3 separate regions of the Homo sapiens genome follow, and all the other regions are linked to region 3. Evidence: promoter capture Hi-C in 16 types of primary human blood cells and fetal thymus (Javierre and others, 2016). All regions are on one chromosome and are shown on one strand. Each heading gives the region's core, a stretch centred on a gene start or on the middle of the fragment in contact. The rest is flanking DNA. Distances are from core to core; before and after follow the strand shown. Region 1 has its middle 12 kb from the start of TNFRSF10B. Region 2 has its middle 8.1 kb from the start of LOXL2. Region 3 holds the start of TNFRSF10A (TNF receptor superfamily member 10a).

Region 1 (3,039 bases), core at 375-2,874, 140 kb after region 3:
TTTGTCCCAGCCAAACCAGTCCCGGAACAAGACAAAACACATGGCTTGAGATGGAAAAGACCAAAATCCCTTGAACGACTACATCCATAATTTATCCTACCACTACTGGACTGCTATGGAGAAGAGTTTGCTGGAAAGAGGCTAAAATGATTACTGAAGTTTTTAAATAAAATAATAGAGCGTGACACAAGGACAAAGCCTTAATGTGTCAGCCATTCTAGGTCCTGTTGTCACAGTGTTTAAGAATTGATATTTCTGAGATGAGTCAGATGCTGCAGCTCAGGAATCTTTACCGTAAAATGCAGCTCAGGGGCTCAGGGTCACAGACCACCAGAAGCGAGAGGGGCCCATCCACTCCTGAGTCAGCAATCATTTCACACCATTCCCAGGCACCGTCCACTCTTCCCTCTTGATGCCATAGCAGATGCCGGGGCAGATAAACACCTGCTCTGCCCTGAGCCCAAAGAAGGCCCAAGATTCACTAATGTTCAGCTGTAATGGCACTTGAAAGAGAAGCTATTTGTAGTCCCAGATCTAACCTAATTCTCACTGTCCTCATCTGCTGTGGACAAGGACGAAGATGCAGTCCCATGACTGTCCCAGCAGGACAGACCAGACACATGGCTTCCCAAAGATACCAGGCTCTTCAAAATCCTGGGCATATGTAAACATCTACTTATAAATAAATATTTGTTTATTTGTAAATAAATACCTCTATATACCTCTAAAATCATCAACTAAGACAGACCGGCCCCTTGAGAAGTTGCCAGTCATCAAACCCTGGTCCAGTCTCTGGGCGTAGGAGGGAGAACTGGAATGTAGTCAGTGCCTCCCACAGAGGGAGGATTTCTCCTCCCATTGCTAGTTGTGTATGTAGTCATTTTTGACTGCTGATTTGCACCAGGCAGCCCATGTAAACAGCCTAATAAATACATTTCCTAAAATTTTTCCATGCTTACATCAACATGCACGAAAATAGGAAAACAGAAAAATGTACATCATATAGTATTACACAATACAGATGTTTCTCTACTTAAGATGGGGGTAAGCCCCAATAATCCTATCTTAAAGCCGAAAAATCTAAATTGAACCATTATAAGTCCACATGCTCATGACTTAGCATGGGGCTATGTCTTGATAATCTCATCGTAAGTTGAAAAGATCCACATTTAAAACGCATGTAATACCCAGATAAACCAGATATAAAGTTAAAAAACTCTAAGTCAAACCACCGTGGTATTACACCATCTTTAGTTGGATGTCATTAAATGCACATACCACTATAGAAGGAGCTTACAATATAAGAAAGTTTTTTCTCATGTGACTTCTCTCATGAAAAGGACTTCTGTCATGATGAACTGAAAAAAAAATGACATCCTAAAACTACCCTTAATACACAATCGTATAACTCTATGCCACCAACATCTTATATAAATTTCCACAGTTTGCTTATCACACACAATATTTCATAAAAATTACTCCAAGTGCGTTGACAAAGTTCTAGGACCTTTGGTAAGCTGCACCATATTGATAGCAGAGTTTGTTGAGGCATGGGTCAAGTACTGGACTCTTTCTTCCAGGCTGCTTCCCTTTGTAGGAGAAAAGGTAAACGAGGGAAGCTCTGGTTTCCTGAAGGGATTCTTTCACAGGCAGGACGTAGCAGAGCCTGCATTCACCTTCCTCATAGAAGAGATTTTTGGAGCCCACCAGTTGGTCCTGAATTATTTCCTTTGCATGTCTTTCTTTCAGTGTTTGAGGCCTCCAGCAAGGTGTTGACTGAGAAGAAGAGGAAAGAGAGGGATTTAGGGTCTTCATGCTCCAAAGATCATCAGCACAGGATCGGCATAGGACCCCCTACTTCCAGCAGGGAATGCTCCAGAAGAGCACTCTCAGCTATGGGGCTAGCAGTTAGGACATCGTCCCTATTGCCTCCATTCCTTCTACATCTCCAGGCACAAAACACTTACTCTCAGTGGGGTCAGCGCCATTCACTGGAACCAGCAGCCTCCTCCCATGACCCTTTCAGCTTTTGCCTGTTCCTGTAACACACAGTGGGGAATGCTCTGGTCAGAGTCAGGAATCCTGCAGTCTAGTACTGACCCCGATCACCAGCCAGCAAGAGACCTACAGAGCTTCCCCTCTCAGGTCTCTGTGGAGATGGAGACAAACCTCTGGTCCTGCATAGCTCTTGGGCTCTGTGTGCTGGTGACTCATTGAAACAAAAGTGACAGGGAGTAAATGCTCACTTCATAAGTGTTCTGCCCAACTTTGACTACTGTATACACCTGTGTAATAATCCTATGATCAAGACATAGAACATTGCCACACCCCAGAAAGTCCCTTTCTTCCCCATCTCATCAATTTCCACCCACCCTCACAGGAGAGAATCACTTCATTACAGAATTTTTACCAACAGAAGTCTCAACAGAGGACTATGTATGAGAGCGCTCAGGAAACATCTAACAAAAGAATTTATTCCAAGACTCCAAAAGTTCTTTGATCATCAATACTGTACCATATCAACAATCTAAATAAGGAAATAAAGCATCAGTCTCTATGGAGGCTGAAAAGACATTTGGTGAAATTAAACACCAATTCTGAATTTTTGGAACCCCTTTAGAATAGGAGGCTGCATTCTTGATGATGTGAATTTCTTTCTATATGAAACCAAAAGTGAACACCATTCCTAAAGGTGGCATGTTAGAGGCCTTCCCCGGAAATCAAATCAGGACCCAAACACCTGCCTTCCCTAAGCGCAGCTGAACATGGTTCTGAAATTTCTGGCCTGTGCAACAAGATGGAAAACAAAAATGAGGCAAGATTCTTGGAAGTGGGCAGACACAATAATCATTATATTCAATGTCACTTAAAAACCCTAAGAATGGGGCCGACCAGGCACAGTGGCTCACGCCTGTAATCCCAGCACTTTGGGAGGCCGAAGCAGGTGGATCACGAGGTCAGGAGATTGAGACCATCCTTGCTAACACGGTGAAACCCCGTCTCTACTAAAAATACAAAAAAAAAAAAAAAAAACTAGCC
Region 2 (3,210 bases), core at 662-3,161, 190 kb before region 3:
GTGAAAGAGACCCCTCTTGGAGAGTCTACATACTGTATGACTCCAACTATGGGACACTCTGGAGTCGGCAAAACTATGGAGACGGTGAAAAGATCCGTGGTTGCCAGGGATTATGGGGAAGGGAGGGGTAAAAAGGTGGAACACAGGGAATTTTTAGGGCAATGAAACCATTCTGCATGATGCTGCAATGATGGATACATTTGTGAAAACCCATTGAATGTACAACACAAAGAATAAGCCCTAATGTAAACTGCGGACTTCAGTTAATAATAATGTGTCCATACTGGCTCATCAATTGTGATAAATGTGCCACCGAAATGCAAGATGAAAATAGTAGAGGAAACTCACTGTGTATGAGGGGCATATGGGAGCTCTCTACATTTTCTGTTTATTTTTTTCTGTAAATCTAAAACTGCTCTTAAAATTTTTAAAGAATCATAACTAGAAAAAAGCTGTCAATTTGAAGCTAACAAGTCACGTCCATGTAAATTAGTTTCAAACTGAGTGGCACTTGCTGTCTGCCAGGCATTGGGCTCTGAGCACTTCACACGCATACATTCATTTCAGCCTTACAAGAATCCTATGAGGTCCCTCCCTATTTTACAGGTGAGAAAACTGAGGCCCAGTGAAGTTAAATAACTTGCTCAGTTATGGTTAGTAAGTGGTGGAGCTGCGATTCAAACCCAGGCAGTGTTGCTCCAGCTACTATACTCTAAACCACATATTACCCCGCATTACTCTTCCCCAAACTTTTCATTTTATTTTATTTCTTTTTTTTTTTTTTTTTTTTTTTGAGACAGAGTCTGGCTCTGTCACCCAGGCTGGAGTGCAGTGACGCGATCTTGGCTCACTGCAAGCTCCGCCTCCCGGGTTCACGCAATTCTCCTGCCTCAGCCTCTGGAGTAGCTGGGTCTACAGGTGCCCGCCAACATGCCTGGCTAATGTTTTGTATTTTTAGTAGAAATGGGGTTTCACCGTGTTAGCCAGGATGGTCTTGATCTCCTGACCTCGTGATCCGCCCATCTCGGCCTCCCAAAGTGCTGGGATTACAGGCGTGAGCCACCGCACCCAGCCTATTTCATTTATTTATTTAGAGATAGGATCTTGCTACGTTGCCCAGGCTGGAGTGCAATGGCATCATCATAGTTCACTGCAGTCTTCACCTCCTGGGATCAAGCTATCCTCCCATCTCAGCCTCCCAAAGTGCTGGGATTACATACAGGCATGAGCCATCAAGCCTGGACCAAACTTTTCATTTTGAAAGAGGATAGAAAAGGGGCACCCAAGGGACTAATTTTTAAAATCAACTTTATTATGGAGTAATTTACCTAAAATAAAGTCACCCATTTTAAGTGTTCAGTTTCATGAGTTTGGGACAAACACATATGCTAATATAAACACCACCACAATCAAGGAATAGGCCATTTCCATCACTACAGAAAGCTTCCTCATGCTCCTTCCCAGGCCACCTCACCCACCTCCAGCCTCAGGCCACCAGTGATCTGCTTTCAGTCCCTGCTGTTTAGTTTAGACTTTTCTAGAGTTTTCTAGAGTTATGACTGGATCATACAGTATGTCTCCTTTTTGTGGCTGGCTTTTTTGTGCATGTCAGAGTTGGGGGCAGGCATCCTGATATGTTTGAGATTCAACCATACTGTTTGCTATGGTTTGAATGTGTCCGCCAGAGTTCATGTGTTGGAAACTTAACCCCCAGTGCATCAGAGCTGGGTGTTGGGGTCTGATAAGAGGTGACTAGGTCATGACAGCTCTGTCCTCATGAATGAATTAATGTTATTTCAAGAGTGGGCTTTTTGTAAAGGGGACTCTGGCCCCCTCTTGCTCTCTTGCTTGCTCTCCCTTCCAAGTGCCATGCCCTTGGACTTCCCAGCCTCCAGAACCATGAGTCAAATATATTTCTGTTCATTTTAAATTACCAAGTCTGTGGTATTCTGTTATAGCAACAGAAAATGGACTAAAACAGTGTTGCATGTATTGGTAGTTCACTCAAAGGAACTAATTTCTAATTGCAAGATTTCAGATATGTTAATCCCCAGGAGAGGAAAGCACACTTTTTTTATTATTATTATGACTAGGACCTTCCCAGGCTGCTTGAGTTGTACTGATCCTGGTCCCACTTCAAAGCAGGGGAGGCACTGAGTGACATCACCCTGAACTGGACCCCAAATGGGCTCCAAGCACAGGAAGTTGTTGGAGGGATTGAGTCACTCCCAACTCAAGCGGGTGATGGAAAGGGCAAGTTAGTCATGTAACCTGGTCTCATGGAATGCTTCTCCCTCCCAGACTGAATTTCCTTCTTTGCTGAATACACAGGACTGCCCTGCATAGCCTTCTTCATTAGAGAAAGCTATGAGAAGCTTTGAGCTCCTCCAAGTAAACTGTTTCATACTCTCAAACAGGCTGTTAATGATGATGATTAATAATAAATTAAGCAAAAGAAGGCCAGGTGCAGTGGCTCATGCTTGTAATCCCAGCACTTTGGGAGGCCGAGGCAGGTCAATCACTTGAGGTCAGGAGTTAGAGACCAGCCTGACCAACATGGTGAAACCCCATGTCTACTAAAAATACACACACACACACACACACACACACACACACACACACACACACACACAAATTAGCTGAGCGTGGTGACGCACGCCTGTAATCCCAGCTACTCAGGAAGCTGAGGCAGGAGAATGGCTTGAAGCCAGGAGGTGGAGGTTTCAGTGAGCCGAGATTGCATCACTGCACTCCAGCCTGGGCAACAAGAGTGAAACTCTGTCTTAAAAAATATATGTAATAACAATAATAATAATAAAGTAAGCAAAAGAAAAGGAAAGGGATGAAGTTAGCACACTGTGGTTGACAGAATAATTTTACATCCTAGAAAATAGATTAAATGAAATTACACTTTTCAATGTAAAAACGTTGTGTTTCCTGGGAAAAAGGCAGATGCGTCCTAACCACTCCTGATTGCATACATATGCAATTTACAATTGTACTTTCTGAGCAGATTTGGAACTCTCCTGGGGCTTAGCTGACTTGGTCTGGGTCTGGTCTCAGCACCCCTGCTAAAGCCTCCTAGGGAAGGTGCTCGGGTTGACAGCTCTCTGGGCCTCTGGTTCCATGTCTGTAAACAAGATGCTTGGAGCACAATTTCTCAAGTTACCTGGCGGCTCTTTAGATCTTAACCCTTTAAATCTCTAGAAT
Region 3 (3,485 bases), core at 787-3,286:
CTTACATAGAAAATCCTAAATAATCTATAAAATAACAACTAGAAATATATCAATTTAGCAGTACCATAGCATACAAGGCCGATGGACAAAAATCAACTGTATTTCTGTATAGTTGCAACAAACAATTTGAAAATAAGGGAAGCTAAATCAATTCCATTAGCAATAGTAACAAAAATAGTTAGAAATATGTTTACAAAAGATATGAAAGATTTGTACATGGAAAGTTTGCAAAATATTGTCAAGCTTAAGTAACAAATATCTAAATAAATAAATTTCATGGATTGAAAGACTCAAAATTGTTAAAATGTCAATTATTCTCATTCATCTCTACATTCAATGCAATCCCAATTAAAATTCCAGTAGGCTTTTTTAACTGAAAAAAATTATTCTATATTTAATATATACGGAAATGCAAACCATTTGGGAGGTGGGTAGTAGGGGGAGGACTTGAACTGCCTGATTTCAAGACTGACTATACAGCTCATAATTAGGACAATGTGGTAATTAGCATGAGAATAGCCAAATAAATAAACGGAACAGAATAGAGTCCGGAAATGGACACATACATATATATGGTCAATTTAATTTCAACAAAAGTGATAAGGCTATTGGATAAGGAAAAAAAGTCTTTTTTTTTTTTTTTTTTGAGACGGAGTTTCCCTCTTGTGGCCCAGGCTGGAGCGCAATGGCTCCATCTCGGCTCCCCGCAGCCTCTGCCTCCCGGGTTCAAGCGATTCTCCTGCCTCAGTCTCCCGAGTGGCTGGGATTACAGGCATCCGCCACCACGCCCCGCTAATTTTGTATTTTTAGTAGAGGCTGCGTTTCTCCATGTCGGTCAGGCTGGTCTCGAACTCCTGACCTCAGGTGATCCGCCCGCCTCGGCCTCCCAAAGTGCTGGGATTACAGGCGTGAGCCACCGCGCCCGGTCGAAAAGAGTCTTTTCAACAAATGGTACCGGAACACCATTAAAATATGGAGAAAAATGAACATCAATCAGCGCCCCCTTTCTCTTACCCACTCCTCAGCCCCAAGGTCGCCCTGGGAGTTCTTCGCAGGCAGGACCGTGACTCGCGTGGCTTTCGGGAGGCTGATTACCCACGCCCCATGCCCGTGCAGCGCTGGGTGCAGAGGAACCGCTGGAAGGACCTGTCCCCCGTGGGACCCCCACCAAGTCTCATCCCGTGTCATGTGCCAGATAGTCTCCCGTGGTTTAAGGACTTTCAAGACTCTTAACAGGTTAGGAAAATCCAGAAGAAAGGCAGAATTGGGTCCCTCGGGCTTGCCTGACACCAGGGACGGTGGAGTTGAGGTGACATTTCACTGGCATGGAGACCTGAAACCAAAAGCAGGATGAGCCGGGCACGGTGGCTCACGCTTGTAATCCCAGCACTTTGTAAGGCCGAAGCGGGCGGATCACGAGATCAGGAGCTCGAGACCAGCCTGGCCAAAACAGTGAAACCCCCGTCTCTACTAAAAATAGAAAAAAAATTAGCCGGACGTGGTGGCGGGCACCTGTAATCCCAGTTACTCAGGAGGCTGAGGCAGGAAAATCGCTTGAACCTGGGAGGCGGAGGTTGCAGTGAGCCGAGATCGTGCCACTGCACTCCAGCCTGGGCGACAGAGCTTGACTCCATCTCAAAAAAAAAAAAAAAAAAAAAAGGCAGGCTGAATCACTCGCCCGGTAGTGACGGAGGAGGCCGTAAAAGCCTCTTAGAGGCCAGACCCCGCAGTGGCCTCTGTGTCCTTCATTCCGCCACCCATCCGTCCACCGAGCGCCTGCTGGGTGCCAGGAACTGGGTCACAGAAAGGCTGAGGTCAACTCCCGACCGAGAAGCCTGGCGCTGGGACCAAGTGGCAAAACGACTCCGAATGCAGCGGCATCCACGCGGCGGCCGTGGTTGAGGAACAGAAGCTGAGAGCGGCAAGGGCGGTCACAGAGGAAGGAAGTTCAGGGTTAGCCAACAGGAGCCGCAGGTGCCCCGAAAAGGGGGCGGGGTCAGGGGTGCCCTGAACTCCGAATGCGAAGTTCTGTCTTGTCATAGCCAAGCACGCTGCTTCTTGGATTGACCTGGCAGGATGGCGCCACCACCAGCTAGAGTACATCTAGGTGCGTTCCTGGCAGTGACTCCGAATCCCGGGAGCGCAGCGAGTGGGACAGAGGCAGCCGCGGCCACACCCAGCAAAGTGTGGGGCTCTTCCGCGGGGAGGATTGAACCACGAGGCGGGGGCCGAGGAGCGCTCCCTACCTCCATGGGACAGCACGGACCCAGTGCCCGGGCCCGGGCAGGGCGCGCCCCAGGACCCAGGCCGGCGCGGGAAGCCAGCCCTCGGCTCCGGGTCCACAAGACCTTCAAGTTTGTCGTCGTCGGGGTCCTGCTGCAGGTGAGTCCCCACCGCGGTCCTGCCTGGGGAAAAGCGCGCCTGGCACCGGGAGGGGGCAGAGAGAGAGGGGGACGCGGCGGGGGTGCCTGGCCCGGGTCACTTGTGGCGGGGCATGTCCGGGCAGGAGGAGCCCGTCGTCGGAGTCGGAGGAAGAACGGGGTCCCCGGGGCCAGGCAGGAGCGACCCGGGCCTGGAGGCAGCAGAGCCCCCTCCCGCAGGAGGCTGGGCCCGGGGACTCCACCCCGTTGGCTGCTGCCTGGCGCGTCTCCCTCCTGCCCACACCTCACGATGTATCGGGAAGTTTCGGAATCGATAGAGCTCAAGTGTGTAAACTTCCAAGCCAACTCCCAGCCACACCAGCTGCGTGAAGGGGAGCGCCATTCTCCCCACTCCCTGATTCCCTCCCCACCCCCGTCCTTCTTTTCTTCTCTTCTTTTTTTTTTTTTTTTTTTTTTTGAAACGGAGTCTCTCTCTGTCGCCCAGGCTGGAGTGTAGTGGCGCGATCTCGGCTCACTGCAAGCTCCGCCTTCCTGGTTCAAGCGATTCTCCTGCCTCAGCCTCCCGAGTAGCTGGGAGTACAGGCTCCTGCCACCACGCCCGGCTAATTTTTTGTATTTTTAGTAGTCACGGGGTTTCACTGTGTTAGCCAAATCCGCCCGCCTCGGCCTCCCAAAGTGCTGGGATTACAGGCGTGAGCCACCGCGCCCGGCCCTCCATCCTTCTTTTCTTAGACAAATTGGTTAAACACGCAGCCCGGCAGGAAAAAGTAACTTTCTCTCCTCTGCTCGTTGTCTTCCGTTTCGAGTCCACTGAGCACACCGGCAGCAGTTTCCTTCCAGCCACTTTCTTGCGCATCAACAGGTACAGGGCAGCGAATTGACCACCACGAGGCAGGCAGCCAGGAGCGGGGCACGCCCTTCCTTCAGGAGGCAGCGTTTCCTGTGAAAGCAATCACTCAGTCTGGAAAAATGCCAATGCCTTCAGTTCTCTTTCAAGTTCATTAAGGCTCTACCAATTGTTCTCATCCAGATTCCTTCTATGTTAAGGAAAAACAAAACGAAAGCTAAGTACCTGAAGGATAAACCAGTCTTACAAGTGTCAGG

What was found. Contacts are between HindIII fragments. The CHiCAGO score rates a contact against its expected background, and 5 or more counts as called.
Region 1: a contact is called between a fragment that was not itself captured here and the fragment with the promoter of TNFRSF10A in region 3, in 1 of 17 cell types (total CD8 T cells). The highest score is 5.9, in total CD8 T cells.
Region 2: a contact is called between a fragment that was not itself captured here and the fragment with the promoter of TNFRSF10A in region 3, in 1 of 17 cell types (M1 macrophages). The highest score is 5.3, in M1 macrophages.

Annotation. Positions count from the first base shown.
Region 1 is chr8:23,079,985-23,083,023 of GRCh38, reverse strand. It overlaps the pseudogene TNFRSF10B-AS1. Among named protein-coding and RNA genes, the nearest start is that of TNFRSF10B, 12 kb to the right of the region's middle. The HindIII fragment of the contact is 3,866 bases long and covers 1-3,039 here.
Region 2 is chr8:23,410,625-23,413,834 of GRCh38, reverse strand. No RefSeq gene overlaps it. Among named protein-coding and RNA genes, the nearest start is that of LOXL2, 8.1 kb to the right of the region's middle. RefSeq lists a silencer at 3,205-3,210. The HindIII fragment of the contact is 932 bases long and covers 1,446-2,377 here.
Region 3 is chr8:23,223,653-23,227,137 of GRCh38, reverse strand. TNFRSF10A (TNF receptor superfamily member 10a) reads left to right here and starts at 2,036. Exons shown (of 10, transcript NM_003844.4): 1 at 2,036-2,382. The coding sequence starts at 2,077. It overlaps TNFRSF10A-DT (TNFRSF10A divergent transcript), which reads right to left and starts at 1,917. Exons shown (of 3, transcript NR_033928.1): 1 at 1,015-1,917. RefSeq lists an enhancer at 1,644-1,783, silencers at 1,835-2,026, 2,194-2,443, promoters at 1,426-2,079, 274-2,079, 1,508-2,544 and a cis regulatory region at 2,465-2,544. The HindIII fragment of the contact is 5,488 bases long and covers 246-3,485 here.